Regions from separate parts of the Homo sapiens genome. Here region 2 is linked to region 1. Evidence: promoter capture Hi-C in human tissues and cell types (Jung and others, 2019). All regions are on one chromosome and are shown on one strand. Each heading gives the region's core, a stretch centred on a gene start or on the middle of the fragment in contact. The rest is flanking DNA. Distances are from core to core; before and after follow the strand shown. Region 1 holds the start of PCP4L1 (Purkinje cell protein 4 like 1). Region 2 overlaps NDUFS2 (NADH:ubiquinone oxidoreductase core subunit S2).

What was found. The method cuts DNA at HindIII sites, captures the fragments that hold promoters and counts their contacts. A contact is called where the count stands out against the background at its distance.
Region 2: a contact is called between a fragment that was not itself captured here and the fragment with the promoter of PCP4L1 in region 1, in 1 of the 25 tissues and cell types used here (liver).

Annotation. Positions count from the first base shown.
Region 1 is chr1:161,256,839-161,260,802 of GRCh38, reverse strand. It overlaps PCP4L1 (Purkinje cell protein 4 like 1), which reads right to left and starts at 2,058. Exons shown (of 3, transcript NM_001102566.2): 1 at 1,820-2,058. The coding sequence starts at 1,828. RefSeq lists an enhancer at 1,190-1,690. The HindIII fragment of the contact is 11,379 bases long and covers 1-3,964 here.
Region 2 is chr1:161,206,692-161,210,655 of GRCh38, reverse strand. NDUFS2 (NADH:ubiquinone oxidoreductase core subunit S2) reads right to left here. Exons shown (of 14, transcript NM_001377299.1): 4 at 1,343-1,463; 5 at 1,061-1,173; 6 at 725-799; 7 at 468-545; 8 at 267-352; 9 at 1-65. Among named protein-coding and RNA genes, the nearest start is that of NDUFS2, 6.3 kb to the right of the region's middle. The HindIII fragment of the contact is 3,202 bases long and covers 286-3,487 here.

The sequences.
Region 1 (3,964 bases), core at 809-3,308:
AGTCTCCATCCGTGGATCCTTCTCTCATCATTCTACTGAGCCCCTGATGAAGGCTAACCAAATTCAGCTGCTGAGTCAGGAGGGAGCGGACTTGGCTTTCTCCTCAAACACCGAATTGTTTCCTTTGCTACAAAACAGGCTTCTCATTCCACCAAATACCACTCTAAATGCCAGCCCCTGTAGTGTGTCCTACAAAGGGGCTGTGCACTTACCCCAGAAAACACAGGCTAACTGCAAATCCTCACGTTGGCATAGCCTTCAGATCACAAACTCCCAGGGGATGGCTTGGATTACAACTTTCAGATTTAGAAATGCTCGGGGTGGGAGGAGTAGTATGAACCCTAGACCTCAGTGAAAAGGGGCAAAGAAAACCTCTCTTCCCACATTAGAGGTGAAAGAGGAGGTTGATGCGTTTTTTTCTTTTCTTTCTGAAAGATTGCCATCATCAGAGTCACAACCAGCTGAGGGACTGGAAACCACTTTGGTTCATCTGCAGCCCCCAGACTAGCCGAATTTTCCAGGATAAAATTAGTGAACACGGCAACCAAGACAACACAGCAGTTGGCACTAATTAGCTCCCTGGGTGACAACTTTTGGTAGGAGTCATAGAGATCTTCATTTTTAGTATCTAAACTGGAACCCAGGCTCCAGGGTCCTATTCCTTCAGTAATCTAATGTCTTTGGGAATTCTTCTGTTAAATTTCTGTAATACTCTAATGGGAGAGGAAGAAAAAAGAAACAGAAAGATAATAGCTAATATAGATTGAGTGCCAGGTCCTGTTTCAAGTATTTGGCATATATTATCTCATTTAATTATTACAACAACCAGTATTATCCCCATTTTACAGACAAAAAATGAAACAAAGGTTTTGTACTTTGCCTAAGGCTACATCACAGGTAAGTAGCTGGCCTACATACATATCTGACATATAGCAGAGGAGTTGGATTTAACACAACGATGTGGGTACTAGGAAAGAGGTTGCAGAGGGCAAGCTTGTGATGCCACTAACCAGACTGACTTCACTTGGAAAGGCTGATCCTTGTTTCTGGAGATGAGACTGTGCCTACAAATAGACAATAGGAGACGTCTTTCCAAAGTCTCTGCTTTGACCCCCCACTCCCCCACCCCATGAACAGTGTTCTTTGAAAACAGTAAATCAGTTAATGGCCTGGGTCTGGCCACGGTGAACACCACAGAGCCTGCCGGAAGACCTAGTTTGTAACAAGCACTGCAGAGGGAGGTCTATTCTTGAAGGGGAAATCTCCCCAGCAACTGGCAGGGGCTTCTAAATACCGGAACACGTCCCTCCAACGTTCCTGACTGAATGAGTGGAGGGCAGGATGCCACCTTTCTAAAAGGGGCACAGTGGCCCTCCCCGGGGGCCAGGGATGGAGTTCTTGTTAGATGCTACAGAAGGAATGTGAGTGCCTTACATCCCTAGGAGAGAGAGGACAGAAGCGAAGTGAGGGGGGTAAGGGGAGCCAGAATAATCTCGGGCAGTAAGACAGATGCAGGGGGCAGTATCCAGAGGGGATGACCTACCACCTGAGAGCTCAGCATCCCCGCTTCCGGACTCTACAGCCGATTCCAATTACCCCCAAAAGCGCCGTCCACAGTAGGGAGACTGAAAGCACCCCGTCTTCCAATCGTTTCCCAGCGCCCCGAGGTGGGAGCTTTCCTAGGAGGGCAGTGGGGCGCCCCTGGAGGGTTCTTCGCGGCTCCGGTCTGCCTCGCTCTCCCTCGCCTCCCTGGGATCCCGAGCCGCAGCACCCTCCCCGCCGCAGCCCTGCCGACAGCGCCGGGGGCCGCACCGCTCACCTCGCTCATCTCCGCAGCCGGACAGGGCGCGCGAGGCGCTGCACGCACAGGTGAGGCGAGTGGCCCTCGGGGCTCCGCGGGCGACAGCTGAAAGTTGCCGGGCTCTGCGGCAGGGGTTACAGCTGACCAGGAGAGGAGAGTTAGTGCGGAGAGCCGCTGCTCTGGTGCTGGCACCCGGGATTCTCGGAGCCCAGCTCCGGCCAGGCGACCCCCTGCGACCCGTCCTGTCAGAGCCGCTCAGCTCGCCGCCTCCGGCCCCACCTTTTATACTCAGCTCGGTACCCGCCTCCAGCCCGACCAATAGAAGCTCCTCCTACCGTAGAATGACAGCCTCTTGCATCCAATGCTGGCAGGTTTAGAGGTCTGCTGCATTTCCAAACTAGGGTAAGACAGAGAGCGGGAAGGAGGGGGAGACCATCGGGGGATGCGGGGACGGAAAATGAAGTAGGGGGAGCAAAGAAAGAGAGGGAGAAAGGAGATGTACACGAAGAAGGCAAGGTGGGGAGTGGAATGGAAGGAGTGTGTGAGTCTGAGAAAGAGAAGGCCTGGAAAGAAATCAAGAGGGTACACGGAAAACAGGAAACAGTGAATGAAAGGGGTAAAGCCAAGAGATGTTGCAGATTAAGATTTCCTAGTAGAATAGCACCCTGGAGGTCGGGCGCGGTGGCTCAAGCCTGTAATTCCAGCACTTTGGGAGGCCGAGGCGGGCAGATCACAAGGTCAGGAGATCGAGACCATCCTGGCTAACACGGTGAAACCCAGTCTCTACTAAAAATACAAAAAATTAGCCAAGCGTGGTGGCAGGCGACTGTAATCCCAGCTACTCGGGAGATTGAGGCAGGAGAATGGCGTGAACCCGGGAGGTGGAGCTTGCAGTGAGCCGAGATCGCGCCACTGCACTCCAGCCTGGGTGACAGAGAAAGACTCCGTCTCAAAAAAAAAAAAAAAAAAAAGAACAGAACCCTGGACCAGAGAATAGCACAAGAGAGGGAGGAAGGCTGGGGGAAGAGAGAGAGAGACAGAATGAGAGAGAGACTGGAGCAAATGGACAGCTTTCTTTGGCAAAGAACAGGGAAATTGTGAAGTGCCTGTTTGATGTGGAAGATCATAGATCTCAGGAGTTGGAAGACATTTTAGGATTCATCAAATCCTACTGTGTCTGGAGTTGGTTCCTTCTGGTGGGTTCTTGGTCTCGCTGACTTCCAGAATGAAGCTGGGAATTTTTGCAGTGAGTGTTACAGCTCTTAAAGGTGGCACGGACACAAAGAGTGAGTCAGTGAGCGAGTGAGCAGCAGCAAGATGTATTGTGAAGAGCGAAAGAACAAAGCTTCCACAGCATGGAAGGGGACCCGAGCACGTTGCTGCTGCTGGCTGGGGTGGCCAGCTTTTATTTCCTGGGGTCACCGCCCATGTCCTGCTGTTTGGTCCATTTTACAGAGTGCTGATTGGTTCATTTTACAAACCTCTAGCTAGCTACAGAGTGCTGATTGGTGCGTTTTACAATCCTAGCTACAGAGTGCTAATTGGCACATTTTACAATCCTCTTGTAAGACAGAAAAGTTCTCCAAGTCCCCACCTGACCCAGAAGTCCAGCTGGCTTCACCTCTCAATCTCCCCTCTAAACAGGACACCCCAGCTGCTGTTGGAAATTGGGCGATGACCACTCTAGCTACTTCCTGCTGGATGGGGGCGAAGGGGCCCTGCAGTGGTAGTATCCTCCAGAGGGAAACTCTCTAGGCCAGCCAAAGGGTCAGTGGGTTGGTCCAGGGGTCCTCGGTAGAAGTTGTTAGTTGAGCTCGTTTGGGGTTCCATTTGTAAGACCATCTGTAGCTTGATGGCATTGATCCTGGAGGAAACAAATTTGACAAAGAGGTTAAAAATACAAGGCCCAAAGGCGAGTAATAGCAAGATGGCTGTCACAGGACCTAGAAAGGGGAGAAGCCATGTCGCCTAACTCTGAAGGTTGGTCTAAGGGTTTGAAAGGCTTTGTCTGATTTCAGAAGCCTCTTCCCATAAACACCGGGCGGAGTCTCGTACTATCCCTGACTGGTTAGTGTAAAAGCAACATTCTTCCCCTAAGAAGGTGAAAGTCCTCCTTTCTCAGCAGTGAGGAGGTCTAGGCCTCAGCGGTTTTGGAGAGTCACT
Region 2 (3,964 bases), core at 637-3,136, 50 kb after region 1:
AAACATCATAGGGCTGGGTCTTCCGCAGGTCCCACTGGATGCCTGAGCCCCGAAGCATCACTCCACTGTGGAGAGCATAATGGGAATAAGGGCCACTCTCCACAAACTAAGTAAGGAGGCTCCTTCTTCCTTAGCCTCCCTTGTTGATCCTTCACATTCAGGGTATGACTAGGAGGATGCCAACAAGTCTTCAAAGACAAGATATTAGGCTGGAACTCCCCCACTCCCACCCCCACTCCTACGGAGAGAAGTTGTATTCCCCTCACCTAAAACCATAGTTAAGTGCTTCTTCTGCTGTTACAACCCCAATGTCAATTGTCCGATTTCGCCAGATCCTATTGTTGGTCAGCAACTATTGATCAAGAAAACTGGTGTGTTAATACTCTTCCTCACACTCTTCAAATATCTCTGTATTTCTCTAGCCCTTCTTGTGGGGGAGAGATTTTTCCCATTGACTCCTAGCTTACCTCCTCCAACTCATCAAGCCGAAGAGAGAAGTTCTTAGAAAACTGATAAATGTCATCCATAAGCCCAAGGGGTAGGTCCTAGAAGCCAAACGGAAGTGCTACTGAATGTGGCATAGCCTTCACTAAGGAGAGCCCTCTCAGCACCCCCTCCCCCAGCGATACAGGTTTGGAGTTTCCATCATCCAGCACTGCCCTCCAGTGGCCACAGGGAAAATAGGCCTGGGCTGGACATTTGGGGAAGCCGGGGACCTGCTCACCTGGTGCACTCCTCCTGGCCGGATATAAGCAGCATGCATTCGGGCTCCAGACACTCGCTCGTAGAACTCAAACATCTTCATAGAACGTGCTGGGAATTAGTGTCAAAGTCCCAGGCCCCCAGGTCCTATGATGGCCTACTCCCCCACTTTCTGCCTTCTTGTGCCCAACCAACCCCTCATGATATAGTTTCTACAAATATAACCCAAGTTAAACATACCTTCCCCCTCTAAATGTTCTCCCATGTTCTCTCTCTTCTTTTAATCTCCTGTCTCCTTTATACCTTCTCTACTTCCTGCACTTCCTTCCCTATTCCTATCCTTTCCTCCCACTCTTACCTTCTCCCTTTCTTCAAACAGCCAGAAGAAAGGGGTCATGGCCCCAAGGTCCAGGGCATGTGTGGTCACAGCCATGATGTGGTTCAACAAACGTGTGATTTCTCCAAACAGCACTGTGAAGACAAGGAGAAGACAGGATATAGGAGCCAAGCACTGAGGCGGACAGAGAGGTCTGGGCAGAGCCTGGGGTCTGAACACTAAGCTTGGGTTCAACGGGGAAGTGGTGGAAAAGGCACTATGCTATGCTCACAGTGGGCCACAGAAAAAGTTGGGGGGACATACCTCGGATCCACTGTGCCCGAGGAGGAGGCCGGATGTTTAGCAACTTCTCCACAGCTAGAGAATAGGCCTGTTCGTTACACATCATGGACACATAGTCTAGCCGGTCAAAGTATGGAAGGGCCTGGGAAGAGGGAGGAATGTGGGTCACATCTAACAGGCTCAGGAGCCCACAGTCTGGCTGCCTGAAGCCTTGCTCTCAGTCGGCACCAGAAGTTGGTGCTGTATAAGCCTTTCTAGTCTCAGGAGCCCCAACAAGGCAGGTAAAAATATCCCAAAAACCAGTAGTATTCTAGTAAATGTTTAAAAACTGGCTCTCCAAAGTGAGGGAGGACTCTGATTTGTCATGTTTGCCAATTTCCATGGTAAAAATACTCCCACAATGGCCAATTTTAAGTTACCAATATCATGTAACTGAATGCAGCATTGGGAAGAATACCACACCATTATACAGTATTTCCACCATACAGACACATTCAAAGCAAATACCTCAAAGGCAGAGCATAGTAAAATGTGGTAAAATAATGAAGTGATGAGCTTTGAATATTTAATCTTACCTTTGCTTTTAATATAATGTATTAAATCATAAGCTTATATAAATTAATTTCTGACAATGGCTATGTTCAACAACTGGCTCACAAAACTCCTGAAAATTTAACAACTGCACTCTTGCAAGCCCGTATGAGCTAGCTCCAGGATACCACTGTCAAGAGTCCTTGGCCGGGCACGTGGCTCACGCCTGTAATCCCAACACTTTGGGAGGCCGAGGCGGGTAGATCACCTGAGGTCAGGAGTTTGAGACCAGCCTGACCAACATGGAGAAACCCCTTCTCTACTAAAAATACAAAATTAGCAGGGCGTGGTGGTGCATGCCTGTAATCCCAGCTACTTGGGAGGCTGAGGCAGGAAAATCACTTGAACCCAGGAAGCAGAGGTTGCAGTGAGACAAGACTATGCCACTGCATTCTAGCCTAGGCAACAAGAGCAAAACTCCATCTCAAAAAATAATAAAAATTTAAAAAACTGACATACTGGTCAGGCGCGGTGGCTCACACCTGTAATCCCAGCACTTTGGGAGGCCAAGTCAGGGTGGCTCATGAGGTCAGGAGTTTGAGACCAGCCTGGCCAACATGGTGAAACCCCATCTCTACTAAAAATATAGAAATTAGCTGGGCGTGGTGGTGAGTACCTGTAATCCCAGCTATTTGGGAGGCTGAGGAACGAGACTCGCTTGAACCTGGGAGGTGGAGTTTGCAGTGAGCCAAGATCACACTATTGCACTCCAGCCTGGGCAACAAGAGTGAAACTCCGTCTCAAAAAAAAAAAAAAAAAAAAAAAAATTAGCCAGGCATGGTGGTGCGTGCCTATAATCCTGGCTACTCTGGGGGCTGAAACAGAATTGCTTAAACTCGGGAGGCAGAGGTTGCAGTGAGCCAAGATCACGCCACTGCACTCCAGCCTGGGCGACAGAGCGAGACTCCGTAGGGAAAAAAACAAAACAAACAAAAAACTTCAGATACTGAAGGAGAAAGGCAATCAGTCTTAAGAGTATCTGGGAGGGTTTTTTTTTTTAATCTTTTTTTTTTTTGAGACACAGTCTTGCTCTGTTGCCCAGGCGCTGGAGTGCAGTAGCACCATCTTGGCTCACTGCAACCTCTGCCTCCCAGGTTCAAGTGATTCTCCTACAGGCGCACACCACCACGTCTGGCTAATTTTTGTATTTTTAGTAGAGATGGGGTTTCACCTTGTTGGCCAGGCTGGTCTCAAACTCCTGACCTCAAGTAATCCACCTGCTTCGACCTCCCAAAGTGCTGGGATTACAGGCGTGAGCCCGGCCAGAGTGAGGTATTTAAGGAAGACAGAGCATCAGGTAGAAATGGTCCTTCCTCCAGAATGCCAAAAAGCCAAGTCCTAGCTGTCTGCTGAACCAGCTTCAGCTTCCAGGAAGAGGGTGGAGCTAAGACGCTACTAGCTGGGACAGCCTGTTCTTATTCTGATGTCACTGTGACGGGGGCTAATGCTACAGGGGTTAACCCATAGACTCCAGGACCAGAAACTGTCATCGCCGAGGCTCTCTTGGGGAATCACATTCTAGTCACTGTTCACCCCGACACTGGGCTGGATCTAAATCCTAATCCTACCATCCTGTTATCAGGACCTTTCTTCATGACAGTAAGAAAAAAACTTCAGATTCCTATTAGAGATCCAACTCCTTCAAATCTGACCTTCATCATTTGGGTTATACAGTTCTCCTAAAAATGGCAAACTGTCATAAACCCTCTCTGAGTTGCTGTGACTCATTGAATGTTTTGAAAACAAACGTAGACAGCTGGAAGATACAAGAATCAGCTGTTAAACTTAGCGAGCTAATGTCTTTTCTCTTTCCCTGCCCCTAGGGACACTGGCTTTGACGCACTAGTCTAACGTAAGAGCAGGGAAACTGAGGCACTCAAGTAATGGCAAAGGGGCCTGCCAAAAAGTCAGCCAGAGAAAAGCTGAGTATAGCTCCAGCTTCAAAGCACTGCTGCTAAATAAACCAAATCCTAATGACTCAAGCATCCCCTGCCACTTCCCTCCATCCACCCAACCAAGAGTAATCTCAACGGGTTACTCCTCTCAACACCT